Regions from separate parts of the Homo sapiens genome. Here all the other regions are linked to region 1. Evidence: promoter capture Hi-C in 16 types of primary human blood cells and fetal thymus (Javierre and others, 2016). All regions are on one chromosome and are shown on one strand. The core of a region is centred on a gene start or on the middle of the fragment in contact, and the rest is flanking DNA. Distances in the headings are between cores, read along the strand shown.

Region 1 (2,667 bases), core at 49-2,548:
ATAAGCAGTTCCTTTTCTTGAACATTTGCCTTCTAATTGAATAGGCATTGGAATACACAAAGTAGAGGGTTTTTTTAAAGGATTTGTTCTTTCTTTTATCTACTACAAAATATGAGTATTTCTCAATGATGACAATAATAATTACCATTTATCGAATGTTTATTGTATTCCTGTCTTTGTGCCAACCACCTGACCTCCGTTATCTGAAAAATCTTTCCAACAACCCTATGACATAGATATTGTTATTCTTCATTTACAGGTGAGTAAATGGAGGTTTACATTTGTATGGAACATGTTCTGCTACTTGAGATAATGGGAATAGGAGCCTAGGAGGGCTAAAAGCAAGGAGCCAGCAAGTCTAGACACATTCCAGAGGACATTATGTCAGTCATGCAAGCCCTGCCTCAGCTTTCTTCCCAACCCTCAGCCTTTTTTCCCAACAGTATATAAATAATGTGGTGTTCCTTTCAATACAGGTGTCTCTAATGCTAGTTTGTTCCATTCTTGGTGAAGTTAATTTGAATCACATTTGGTTAGCATGTTTATCAGTTTTTTTCTACTGAGTTTCCTTTTGTGAAGTAAGAACAAATATGTTTATGAATGTAGAGTTAGCTGTGCTAAAATTAAATGAAAAGTCAAGCAAACTACCCAGATAGTTTAAGCCAATCACCCAGGATTTCATGAACCCTTTGAGCCATTTATGTTTCCCTTGAGGGATATTTCACATCTTTTACCTGAGAGTTCTACAGGGCATGCTTTTATTAGTTGAAATGTCACTGAGGGCGAGAGTAATTGTTCAACGGATGTACTTGAACTTGGACATTTAAGAATTAACAGAACGGGCTGGGCGCAGTGGCTCACGCCTGTAATCCCAGCACTTTGGGAGGCCGAGGCGGGAGGATCACGAGGTCAGGAGACCGAGACCTTTCTGGCTAACACGGTGAAATCCTGTCTCTACTAAATCCTGTGTCGGATTAATTCGTTCTACTTGCTATTACCAATAAATAGCATGGGCTCCCAGAGCTATGCCTGGCTAACTCTATCACCTTCAAGGGTTTGCTCAAACTATTCAGCCTACTTTAAGTAAATCAATTTCCAAGGTTACAAAATAAACTTCACGTACATTTTTATGGTTAGGTATTTGCGCGTATTTGGGGGCTCCATAGCTTTCATCCGTTACTCAAAGCGCTTCAGGACGCTAAAAAGGCTCAGAGCTGCTTCGATAAACAAGAAAGAATGCTGCAAGCAAAGGCAGCAGTTTCGCTGTAAAATCCTATTGCTGACAGCCAAGACGGGCGTATTCCCTCGCGACCAGCCTGTGGCGTGGTTGGGGCTCCGGAAGGGCGCGCGCGAGCGCTTTTTTGGGAGGACACCACAGGTGGACGCCTCAGCTGATCGTCCTCCCTCCCGGGGACCCTGCCCCGAGTCGCCGAGTAGCCGCAGAGTCGCCTCCGTCGCCCCGCCGCCCCTGTGTTTCGGACATGGCCGCACGCCTTCTCCGAGGGTCCCTACGCGTCCTGGGCGGCCACCGTGCGCCGCGCCAGCTGCCCGCCGCGCGGTGAGTGCCAGCCGGGACTTCCGCGGCTGCAGGCCGGGAGGCTGTGGGGTGGGGCAGCGAGTCACTCCTGTCGCTGGCTTGAAGCAGGGCGGTGCGCGCGCGGCTGGGAGTGCTCCCCAACTCCGGCGCCGGGCTAGAGCTGGCCTCCTTTCCTGGATCCCGCGGACTGGGTGCAACCAGCATCTGGGCGGAGGAAAAAGGGGTGTCAGCCGTGCCGCCCCGAGAACAGACCGCCGAGCCCACGTCGGGGAAAGCCGAAAGATTTCTCCAGAAGTTCATTCCGGAGCCCCAATCCAACCCGTCTAGTTCAGCGGCCTGCAGTGGGACCCGGGAGCCTGCGTTTTGGGAGGAGGTGGTCACCCCCTGGGCCCGGCTGCAGGAGCGCGGGCTGCGATCTGTGTCCCAGTTCGAGCTGTGAACCCGGCGTTCCCCACGGCTTAGACTCGCCGCGCGGTAGTGAACTTGGGACCCGGACTCAGTGCCCGGGCTGCGGCGCGGACCAGAATTGTCCAGGACAAACTGGGCTAGAAATGACCTGGCGAGGGTTCCATCAAACAAGGAAATTAGCTTTAGATATATCAACAAATCTAACTAAATACAGAGGATTAATGAAGACAGAGTCTAAGTAGTTCAGTGACTACTAAGGTGGTGTTTATAATATGATCAAAAGTTTCAGATACTGTCTGATGCATAAAATCTATTCACTGGGTAAACAAATTGGAAGCATGGAGAATTCATTATTTAATAAGGGTGAAGGAACTGGCAAATTTGCGAATGACAGCATTGGTGTAAGCTACTCTAATTTTATTTGAGAGCTATGAAACAAAATGCCTACTTTTCCTGGGGAGATTTGGGAAGACGTCACTGAGAAGGTGACTTTTCTTTAGGATACATACTTAACTCTTCCTTGGAACATTATAAGACAGTGATCCTCAAACTTTTTTTTTTTTTTTTTTTTTTTTGAGACAGAGTCTCACTCTGTCGCCCAGGCTGGAGTGCAGTGGCGCGATCTTGGCTCACTGCTGCAACCTCCGCCTCCCGTGTTCAAGCAATTCTCCTGCCTCAGCTTTCCTGAGTAGCTGGGACTACAGGCACGCACCACCACACCC
Region 2 (2,667 bases), core at 98-2,597, 310 kb after region 1:
CAAGTTGAATGACTTGGTCATAAAGGAGAGAAAACATTTCATAGAGAAGTGTTAGGAAGTTAAAGGTCAAATACAGGACCCATCAAGGAAGCATGAGTTCATAGTATCCATTATCAAGGACTGAGTTGTACAGGTAAAATGATTTCTTTTCAAAAACCATACTCTTCTGTAAGAGGCAGCAGCTCTTCTTAAAAATTGTCTCCTCAACCAGGAGATTCATCTACATAAGGACGAATAAGACAATTTCTTCCTCTAACTCCTTAAATGCCAAGGGATGGACTGAATAATGCAGCTGGGAGAAGGACTGAACCTAACGAAGGCAGGCTTATTTATCCAGAGTCCTGATTCTTCCTATTTTTGCACTCCAGGCTGTGCAAAGAGGGAATCGTTCTCCTCAAACAGAATAAATGCTCATTTGTTTTTCCAGTGCCATGTCAGTGAAACACTTTCTCCCTCTAGCCAAGGGAAAAAAAACTGAACTTCTTAAGAATTTTTGAACAGAGCTTCATAGTGTTATGGATAAAGATATTTTGAAAGAAAAGGCAAATCTAAAAGTGCATGGATATTCCAAGAAAGTCTTTCAAAACTCTGACAAAACGACCCAAGAAAATGCATCTATTATGTGACGAGTATAGAACCAACTTTTAAAATGAACCTACTTCAAAACAAGTGAATCAGGGCTCTTGTTGTGCTTTCTAAAGAAAAAATCATGGAGGTGCATATGTGGGAACACATATTATTTGGGGAGATAACTATTGCTTTGCTTTTTTCCCCTGTGAATGTGAAAGCAATATATAGCATAAATAGCATGCCCATTTTATATAACTTGAAGACTGTTCTAAAATCATATATAGCAATAGTTTTCCACATTAATATGGAGGTGTATCTGACCCTTGCAAAAGAGTCAAGATACTAAAAACTGGCACCTCTCTGTTTTATTATTTATATTTATAAAATAATAAATGTACCCCTGCTTGCACTCATTCTCTCTCCTGCCGCCCTGTGAAGGGCTGCCTTCCACCATGATTGTAAGTTTCCCAAGGCCTTACTAGCCTTGAGGAACTGTGAGTTAATTAAGCCTCTTTCCTTTATAAATTACCCAGTCTAGGGTATTTCTTTATAGCAGCATGAGAACAGACTAATACAATCCCCAACCCAATGATAGCCATTATTAGGTTCCTTTCAGCCTTTTCCCCCATGCATCTTAGCACAACTGTGATGATGCTATGTGTGGCACACAATTTTAAATGATTCATTTTACTATGATTTTATAAAGAGTATTTTTCCATTACAATTATTTGAAAATATGATTCTTAAATTTTGCAAATATTTTACCACTTTCTCTTTTGGTTGGACATTTTTTCTCCAGGAATTCTTTTGAATAATATTTCTTGATTAAATTACAGGAATTTTAACCAGGCAGATACAGGAAAATACTCAGCACACCAAAAAAAAAAAAAAAAAAAAAGATGAGCATTTATATTTGTCCCTGATACCCTGTGTTTCTGCCTACCAAAGTATAAGTCAAGTTCCTCAAATATTTAATATCCTACCATGTTACCTTAGGAAGCATGGTGTGTTCTGGTGGCCTCATGACACTTAGGGTGCTTGTTTTAGTGGAAAAGGAAGGAAGCTGCAAGGGCTTTCACATCAAGGTGATAAGCTAGTAACTCTTTTTTAATGACTTGATTAGAAGATAGATATCACAGAGATGGGGGTATATGTGTGATGGGTTTGGGTACACTCTTGTAAAGGTCTTAAAGTCCCTCTATTGGTGTGACTCCTAACTCAGACTACTGGAAGGAGCAGGAGACTAGTTCCAAAGGCATCTACTAGTGGTCCTTTGAAGAGTTAGAGATTTCACTGGACTACAAGATGCACCTAGTGGTTGAAATGACACATCAAGCAGGGATCTGTAGAGAAACTCAAGATTAGCAACCCAAGACCAAAGGACAGAATAGTGATAAATTCTGGAAACAAGAGTGATAAATTCTGTCCTTTGGTCTTGGGTTACTAGTCTTGAGTTTCTCTACAGTTCCCTGCTTGATGTGTAATTTCAACCACTATGTGTATCTTGCAGTTCAGTGAAATTCAAACTCTTCAAAGGACCACTAGTAGATGCCTCTATTAGTGATAAATAGAGATTAGGGATAAATTCTGTCCTTTGGTATTGATAAATTAGTGATTAATTCCTCTACTCAGTCATTGTTGAGGTGGTTCTACCAGAGGGAGCTGTGTTCAATGGGAGGCAGTTATGCAGCCTCATGCTCTGTCAGGGATACTTGGGAATCCCTGCTATGGGATAGGGTAGAACTTGGACCAATGACATTTTTTCCTATGTATATGTCTTAGAAAAATCCATCCTAGTTGACTCTGTGACTCCTCTCGGCATCCTGACCACTTTTGATTAGATTACCAATGCAAAACCAATTTTTTGACTGGCTAAGGATTTATCACTTGTGGTGTTTGGCCCAAAAGAGGAAGAGATGGCCCCCTCAAATTCCTGTCCTAGGGAATTAAGAGAAACAGTCTGAATCATTTAGTGATGGTTGCTGTGCAGAAAAATAATGATGCCATCTTGAAATTTTCAGTCTATGTACAAGATGAGTACAGCAATAGGAGCTGGCCAGGGGATAAAATGTCTGTGCAGATGGAGATGATGCGGAA
Region 3 (2,667 bases), core at 66-2,565, 300 kb after region 1:
TGGTTGTGTATTGGAGGGCATTGAGTTGCATGCACTGCACTATAAAGTTCTTTGCATGATTTTAACAGTGTTCACACTTGTAGCCACAGAGCTACACTAAAAAGGAAGAGGAATTTACTTGTCTATTGCTGATGGTCAGTTTTTCCAGAAAATGTCGAAGAACCGTTGATGGATCTTCAATTAGACAGTTCCATAAGACTTGTTGAGCCACAGCACTCACTTCAGAAGAGAAAGAAAGTTGAACATTTGTCTTTAATGGAGTTAAGTCTATGAGATAAAGTATTTGACAATTTACAAGCTTTAGTCTCTGCTTTTTGCCTTAAAAGGCTCTGTGAACTCTTTTTTCTTTTGCAACGTAGGTGTTTGTTCTCTTCGTTGTTGTCTCTGAACATTTTCACATGTAAAGAACAGGTTACCAAAAAGTGTAGGAGTTGTCTTCAGGTATCAGCAATGCTTTTGCAAAGAATATCTCTGTGAATATATGCAATTGTCTTTGTTGTGGAAGTCACCCCAATAATAGCAGCAGTCAGCACTTATTAAATTACAGTCATATTTTATTGTTTATTTTATGGAGAAACTATGAAAGACTATTTGGATTTTGAAAATATGTTTTGGTTTAGAATGCATATGAATTAGGGATTTTTTTTTCTGTCCACATGAGTGCTTCAAACAGTATCTCCTTCAGCAAGATAAAGTAGTTGAGCCAGTAACAATTAGGTTCTCACTTCTAACGAAGAAGTCTTAAGAATAAATAATTAATCCTAATGAGAAAGAAAGTGCTATTTCTGTGGGGAAAGCGGTCAGGCTAAGATTGTCTAGAAGTACCCAGACTAAGAAAGCAAGTGGGTAAAAAACAGGGCCAGTAAGCACTGAATGGTCTTTAGTTTCAACGTGTTTCCCAATTCCATTGGTTTTCAAAAGTAGGAATACAGAATTTAGCATAAATTTATTTCAAATAAATGATACCAAATTTTGATTCAGAAACAAGCCATACAGTTAAAGTTAAAGGACATATAAATAATATTAACAAAAATATAAATCCAGAGCTGTAGCTTTCATGTGTCTCTATAACTAATTAAAATAGGTGTGAGTTTTTCTCAGGTTGATATTGATTGCAAAAATATCTTTACATGTGAAATAAGCCAGGCACAGGAAAACAAATATTGCATGTTTTCACTCATTTGTAGAAGCTAAATAAGTTGATCTCTCGGAAGTGGACAGTAGAATAGTGCTAACTAGAGGCTAGGAAGGGGAGGCGGGAGGGAGGCATGGGAAAGGTTGGTTAATGGATAAGAAATTACAGCTAGATAGCAGGAATAAGTTTCAGTGTTCTTTAGCACTGTAGGGTGACTATAGGTAACAATAATTTATTCTATATTCTCAAATAGCTAGAAGAGAGAATTTTGAGTGTTCCTAACACAAAGAAATACTGTTTGAGGTGAAGGATATGCTAATTACCATGATTTGATCATTACACATTGTATACAGGTACTGAAATATCACTGTACCCCATAAATATGTACAATTATTATGTGTCAATTAAAACTTTAAAAATGTTCATGTTATTTTTATTTTAATTGCTTAAGTAAGGCAGTTTCATGCTTAAAACATGAAAAATACAAAAAAATGCAAAGAGAAAAATAAGACTGGGAAGTCCACTCATCACAGAAACAACTATTAACAGTTTGGAGTATGTCATTTCACATACATGAAATATATATTTACGTGCATTATTTTATTTTATTTTTATTTTTGAGATGGAGTCTCACTCTGTTGCCCAGGCTGAAGTGCAGTGGTGCGGTTTCGGCTCACTGCAACCTCTGCCTTCCAGGTTCAAGCAATTCTCCTGCCTCAGCCTCATGAGTAGCTGGGATTACAGGCACGTGCCACCACGCCTGGCTAATTTTTGTATTTTTAGTAGAGACAGGGTTTCGCCACGTTGGCCAGGCTGGTCTCGAACTCCTGATCTCAAGTGATCTGCCTGCCTCAGCCTTCCAAAGTGCTGGGATTACAAGCATGAGCCACCGTGCCCAGTCTACTTACATGTATTTTAAAATAGTACTATATATAGAAAATATTCTCTGGTATTCGGTTTTTTACTTAGCAATGTATTAACACTTTTTATATTAATATTCATCTAGAATGCAATTCCAGCATTCACAGAATGTTATCATATGGAGGTACTATGATTAACTAATTGCTTATTGTTAGGGATTTAAAGTCTTTCTAAATATTTTTTATTTTAAATAATGATCAGTGTACAATGTCCTTTATACAGCCCTCATGATTGTCTTAGGAAATTGCTAGAAGCCAAATCTGTGTCAAAAGCTTTTCACACTTTTAAGGTTTTTGATACATATCATGAAACTCTGTTCTAGAATGCTTGTACAGAGTTTTATACTTCATCAGCAAAGTATGAGGATGCTCTTTCCCCTGCTTTTTCACCAGCAATAGATATTTTCATTTAAAGTAATATTTGCCGACTTTCTGGCTGAAATGTAAGATTTATTACAGTTTTAAACAACGATGTTGTCTCCAGGTGTTACTGGCCATTGGATTGCCTGCTGATATCCTTTGCCCAGTTTTCTAATGGGGTTTTAAAAAATTATTAGTGAGTTATAAGAGCTTTTTAAAATGTAACGTTAAGAAATTAACCTTTGTCTGTCA
Region 4 (2,667 bases), core at 124-2,623, 280 kb after region 1:
TGTGCAACACCACACCTGGCTAATTTTTAATTTTTTAAAATTTTTGTAGAGACAGGGTCTCACTATGTTGCCCAGGTTGGTCTCAAACTCCTGGGCTAAAGGAATCCTCTTGCCTCAGCCTTCCAAAGTGCTGGGATTATAGGTGTGAGCCACCACACCTGGCCTAAATTTAGTTTCTAAAAGCTTACTTGTCAGAATGTTAGTCTGATATTAATCAGCATAACCTTTGTATTCATTCAATTTTATTTTCTCTGCCATATTTACTTATCACAAGGCACAGAATAAAGGGCTGCAGATACCTTCTGAATGATTCGGGAGCATACGCCACCACAGTGACACAGAGCTTAATGGCTTCACTGATAGAAAATGTCAGATCTTCGTTTCCATAGCAGAAATCTGAAGGAACAAAAAGTAAAGGCAAACTATCAGAGTGGATTTTGCAGGAGATAAAGAAGCACCTATTACTCCTAATGTTATCATTCCAGTATATACTGTAGCCTTTTCTTGTTAAATTTTATTCCTACGCTGTGAAAACTATTAATTTCTTCATCTCAAGGGAACGAAATTCTGTTTTCTAGTTTTGAACAATCAGATGTAAAATAAAAATACTTTTCTGGAGTGTTTAAAAAAATCTCAGATAATAGAAGACACTGAAGGGCATTTAAATTGCCTAAGGTTGAGGCTTTACCCTGGAGTTATCTCTAGTTCTACACATTCCATGATAATAAAAGACCATTTTGGAGAGTTATTCACTTAGAATTACCCAAGATAACCCAACTTTCTGAAAACTGCAGTGCTACAGCAGTGGTCTACTGAGCATCATTTTAATATAGTTTTCATGGCAGAGAATTCCTTACTCTTTAGGATTCATAAGAAATTTAAGAAAAAAAATGTACTCATTCAATTTCTACTACTGTTCCATTTATTTTTGCTACTTTGATTTAGTTATATATACACACACATATAAATATACGTGTATGTGTGTATAATACATATATTTATATTTAACAACTGCAGTGAGAAAAAGAATGTCAAAGCAAGTTTTGCTTTTACCTAATGACTTGAGAGGCTTCTCAGCTTTGACCAGCTCTAAGATGTCTAATATGTCGGTGGTCTCTCCCTCTAGGGACTGCAGCAAGTCAAACAGGCACTGAGCTGACACACCTTTGCTGGGCCCATTATTGGCAGCATCCTGATAAAGAAAAACAATTTTTGTTTATTGACTCCCACCACAGTAAAACTATAACTTGACAGGAATTCAAATTTTATAAATGCTATTACCAGTAACAAGTACAACATCTACCTGGAATTCAGCTTACATAATTCTGGATCCCGCAATGCTGTGGTATGATTTTGGAGTGGTACACCTGACTTTTAAGGGATCTATTAAATTCTAATATAGAACAAAAGAGATATTTGTAAAAGCTCACAAAAATACAGCGATATATGAACTTCCAAAAAGTTCATATCAATGGTTCCTTTAATTGAAGATGGCAGAACTAAGAAAATTTCTATAATTGATTGGTTGAATACTACAAATATGTTTGCGGAATGTATGCTTATTTTAACTAACAACGCTGGGAATTTCACAGGTCTTCTTTGATAATGTATCTCCACATGGAGATACTTACAATTTTAAATCTATTTAAAATGGCTTTAAATAATTCACTGAAACAACAAATCCTTATGATGTTCTTCTGTGCCAAGCACCAGGCTACACACTGAGGTTATAGAAAACCAAAAACAAAATGCAAATAAAACAACGATACAACAATAACTAAAACCAAACAAACAAGCAAAGACAAAAGCATACAAAGGTCTTGCTTTCATGAAGATTAAATTCTGCTGGTTGAGTGTCGTAGAAATTCATGTTAATGAAACAAATAGATATAACATGTGATATGGTGGTAAAATCTCTGAAGAAAAAGAAAAACAAAGCAGGGTAGGTGGTAGAGAGTGACAAAAAGGAATGAAAATTGGGAAACCTTCCTTTTACCGTTTTCTACTTTCCATCTCTTTTATGAATTGAATATTTAAAAAACTGTAGAGTTGGTCTATTTATGTGTTAGGAGCTGAGATGAAAGCTGAAGAGGAATGTTGAAGAGAAATGATATGCTTGTTGAAAGAAATATTATTTATGGTATGCATGTCTCATTGGTTAAAGAAAGAGAGCTCAGAGACTGAATATACAAACTGTCAATGACTAAATCATATATAAAGATAGAACTTTGACCCACAACCTGCAACAACCTGCTCAGGAAACCAACCCATTGTCTACAATAACCAGCTCAGGAAGCCAGCCTAAGTCAGGCTTGTAGGAAGTCAGGCCACTACCTCCAGTGGTAACCAAACAATAACCTCTGTAACAACTGGCCCAAAGTAACCAGGACTGGCATAATAACTGAGAGCTTTCCTAATTTTTGTCCCTGCTTCCAACTTAGGACCAACCAGAGAAAGCCCAATATACACCCCTAACCCATCATATAAGATGCCCAACTACTAGTTAGTTCACCTGCAGCTTCCCCAGGCCAATAGCTCCAATCAGGACATACCTGAAGCTTCTCCTTTTTTCACTATACAGTTTTTCGACTCCTCTGCCTGCCTTTGCATCTCTGCCAAAACACAAGTGATGGTAGCCAACTCCCTTGCCATAGTAAGCTCTAATAA
Region 5 (2,667 bases), core at 54-2,553, 260 kb after region 1:
TATTTTTCTAATACAGCTTAAAAGGAAAACGAAAAAATACAGTTTCCCAGGACCTCCAAAAATCTCATAAATAAGACCTTCTGGCCGGGTGTGTTGGCTCACGCCTGTAATCCCAGCACTTTGGGAGGCCGAGGCAGGTGGATCACGAGGTCAGGAGTTCAAGACCAGCCTGGCCAAGATGGTGAAACCCTGTCTCTACCAAAAATACAAAAAAATTAGCTGGGCGTGGTGGTGGGCACCCGTAATCCCAACTACTCGGGAGGCTGAGGAGATTGTGCCACTGCACTCTAGCCTGGGTGACAGAGCAAGACTCTGTCTAAAAAAAAAAAAACAAAAAACTTCTAAGGTCTGGTCTGGGCCCAGAAATCTGTATATTTTTAACTTTTATTTTGGAAAATCTCAAACATATAAAAAGGTAGAGAGATCAGTATATAGTAAGCCCCAAAATACCCATCTCTCAACCTCAGCCTTCCAAGTAGCTGGGACTACAGGTGCACAGCCCCATGCCCGGCTAATTTTTGTAGTTTTTGTAGAGATGGGGTTTTGCTATGTTGCCCAGGCTGGTTTTGAGCTCCTGGACTCAAGCAATCTGCCTGCCTCAGCCTCCCAAAAGTGCTGGGATTACAGGTGTGAGCCACTGTACTTGGCCTACAGTGACTCTTGTTTTACTTATACCCCCAAACACTCCCCCTTTTCCCTACCCTAGACTATTTTAAAGTAAATTCCAAGCATCACATCATTTACCCAGACATATTTCAGTATGTGTCTCCAAATTTATGGACTCAGAAAAATTAAACACAACACAGTATGACATTTAACAAATTAAAAATAATTCTTTTTTAAAAAACCCAAATATTCAGTCAGTTTTCAACATTCACACATTATCTCATAATTACTTTTTTTTAACAAATTAGGAAAAAATAAGGCCCATAAATTTCAATTTGTTGATATGTCCTTAAGTCTCTTTTAATATGTCGATTTCCCCCCTTCTGTACTTGTCTTTTTTTTTTTTTTTTTGAGACAGAGTCTCACTCTGTCACCAGGCTGGAGTGCAGTGGTGCGATCTCGGCTCACTGCAACCTCTGCCTCCCGGTACAAGCGATTCTCCTGCCTCAGCCTCCTGAGTAGCTGGGACTACAGGCGCATGCCACCACGCCCAGCTAATTTTTGTATTTTTAGTAGAGACGAGGGTTTCACTATGTTGGCCAGGATGGTCTCGATCTCTTGACCTTGTGATCTGCCCAACTCGTCCTCCCAAAGTGCTGGGATTACAGGCGTGAACAACCGCGCCCGGCCTTATCTTGTTATTTATTAAAGAAATTCTCTGTAGCAACACTCTGAATTTTGCTGATTGAATCTCCACGGTGTAATTTAATCTATCCTACTGCCTTTGTATTTAATTCGATTGGAAGTTAAATCCAGGGCCTACATCTGCAGACTCAGTTTTGAATTTTTGGCAAGAGTACTTAGCAGGTGGTGTATGTGGTGTGTACTTCCGCCAGGAGGTACAGGATTCCTAGTTGTCACTCTTTTTATATTAGTTGTTCTTAGTCACTGCACAGATCCACTGATGCATTAGGAGTAGTGCAGTGGTAATATCATGTAATTCTTTGTCTCACATATTAACTATAGCATTGTAATAAAGAGAAATTGTGATTACTCCAAGAGAACTGAAGAGTGAATAACTGTTTGAAAGGATCTAGAGGGTAAGAGCTCCTCAGCTGATTTTGATAGGCATCCTGGTTTAGGAATCACAGCCAAGGCCACTACCTCTCTGATTATTTAGATTGTTCTACAATTGCTTTATGTGACTGGCTCCATGGATAGAAAATTCACTACTGTACAAGGCAACTTATTTCATCTTTGGAGGTCCACACTGTGAGAGGTTCCTTTCATGTTAGGCCTCCAAATTCCCTTTCATTTCTTCCTACTAGGCTTAATTCTGAAAGCATAAATCCAATCCATCTTCTCCATCATGACCCTTCATTATCAAGAAATAGTTATTGTCTCTTAATTCCCATTGTCTTCTCTCCAAACTGAACATATTCACATTGTCCTGGAATTCTGTGTGAATGTGGGTGTTTTAAAGAAATCATTTTAAACAGCTTATACATTCTTTTGTTTATCTCTTTCTCATGAATTTGATATACAGAAAATAATTCTTTACTTCTCAGGTTATTTGTGTGACAAATAAGAGTATATCTATATGCACTTATTTCTTTTCTCTTATTATTTTAAAGATAACATTGAGAAGTGCTTGTGAGATAATCAATCTGTCTATTTTGAGCTTCCAAAGACTACGTAGAGCTGAATTTAAGAGCCATTTTATGGATTACTACCTGAATTTCTCTAATTCCTGGTCATGTGACAAAATAAATTTGCTTTGTGCATAAAACAAAATTTCCCTTTCCCACAGTCTTTGCTGTACTATCACATGTATAATCAAAAAACTTTCCTATGGTTCTTTCCCAGTGGGAACACAAGAGATTTTCCCATTGAGAGGGTGAGGGAGAGAGGAAAAGAGAAAGAGAGAAAGAGAATGAGAGAGATAGAGACCACACACGAGAGAGAGACAGACAGAGAAAGAGAGAGAAAAAGAGAGAGAATTTGCAGATTCTATTATCCAGCTGCTTTGGCAGCACTGGGTTGGACAAATGAAGCAATACA

What was found. Contacts are between HindIII fragments. The CHiCAGO score rates a contact against its expected background, and 5 or more counts as called.
Region 2: a fragment that was not itself captured here is called in contact with the fragment with the promoter of ACADL in region 1 in 1 of 17 cell types (neutrophils); the score reaches 5.6 in neutrophils.
Region 3: a fragment that was not itself captured here is called in contact with the fragment with the promoter of ACADL in region 1 in 2 of 17 cell types (total CD8 T cells and fetal thymus); the score reaches 6.2 in total CD8 T cells.
Region 4: a contact is called between a fragment that was not itself captured here and the fragment with the promoter of ACADL in region 1, in 11 of 17 cell types (neutrophils, non-activated CD4 T cells, activated CD4 T cells and 8 more). The highest score is 11.8, in neutrophils.
Region 5: a fragment that was not itself captured here is called in contact with the fragment with the promoter of ACADL in region 1 in 11 of 17 cell types (neutrophils, naive CD4 T cells, total CD4 T cells and 8 more); the score reaches 13.3 in neutrophils.

The regions. Positions count from the first base shown.
Region 1 is chr2:210,224,078-210,226,744 of GRCh38, reverse strand. ACADL (acyl-CoA dehydrogenase long chain) reads left to right here and starts at 1,298. Exons shown (of 11, transcript NM_001608.4): 1 at 1,298-1,558. The coding sequence starts at 1,482. The HindIII fragment of the contact is 4,947 bases long and covers 1-2,667 here.
Region 2 is chr2:209,909,451-209,912,117 of GRCh38, reverse strand. The region is part of intron 29 of UNC80 (unc-80 subunit of NALCN channel complex); the gene reads right to left. Among named protein-coding and RNA genes, the nearest start is that of RPE, 92 kb to the left of the region's middle. The HindIII fragment of the contact is 5,728 bases long and covers 1-2,667 here.
Region 3 is chr2:209,927,423-209,930,089 of GRCh38, reverse strand. UNC80 (unc-80 subunit of NALCN channel complex) reads right to left here. Exons shown (of 65, transcript NM_001371986.1): 37 at 119-219. Among named protein-coding and RNA genes, the nearest start is that of RPE, 74 kb to the left of the region's middle. The HindIII fragment of the contact is 2,030 bases long and covers 301-2,330 here.
Region 4 is chr2:209,943,576-209,946,242 of GRCh38, reverse strand. UNC80 (unc-80 subunit of NALCN channel complex) reads right to left here. Exons shown (of 65, transcript NM_001371986.1): 46 at 1,054-1,192; 47 at 300-396. Among named protein-coding and RNA genes, the nearest start is that of RPE, 58 kb to the left of the region's middle. The HindIII fragment of the contact is 2,375 bases long and covers 186-2,560 here.
Region 5 is chr2:209,963,136-209,965,802 of GRCh38, reverse strand. The region is part of intron 51 of UNC80 (unc-80 subunit of NALCN channel complex); the gene reads right to left. Among named protein-coding and RNA genes, the nearest start is that of RPE, 38 kb to the left of the region's middle. The HindIII fragment of the contact is 3,612 bases long and covers 1-2,667 here.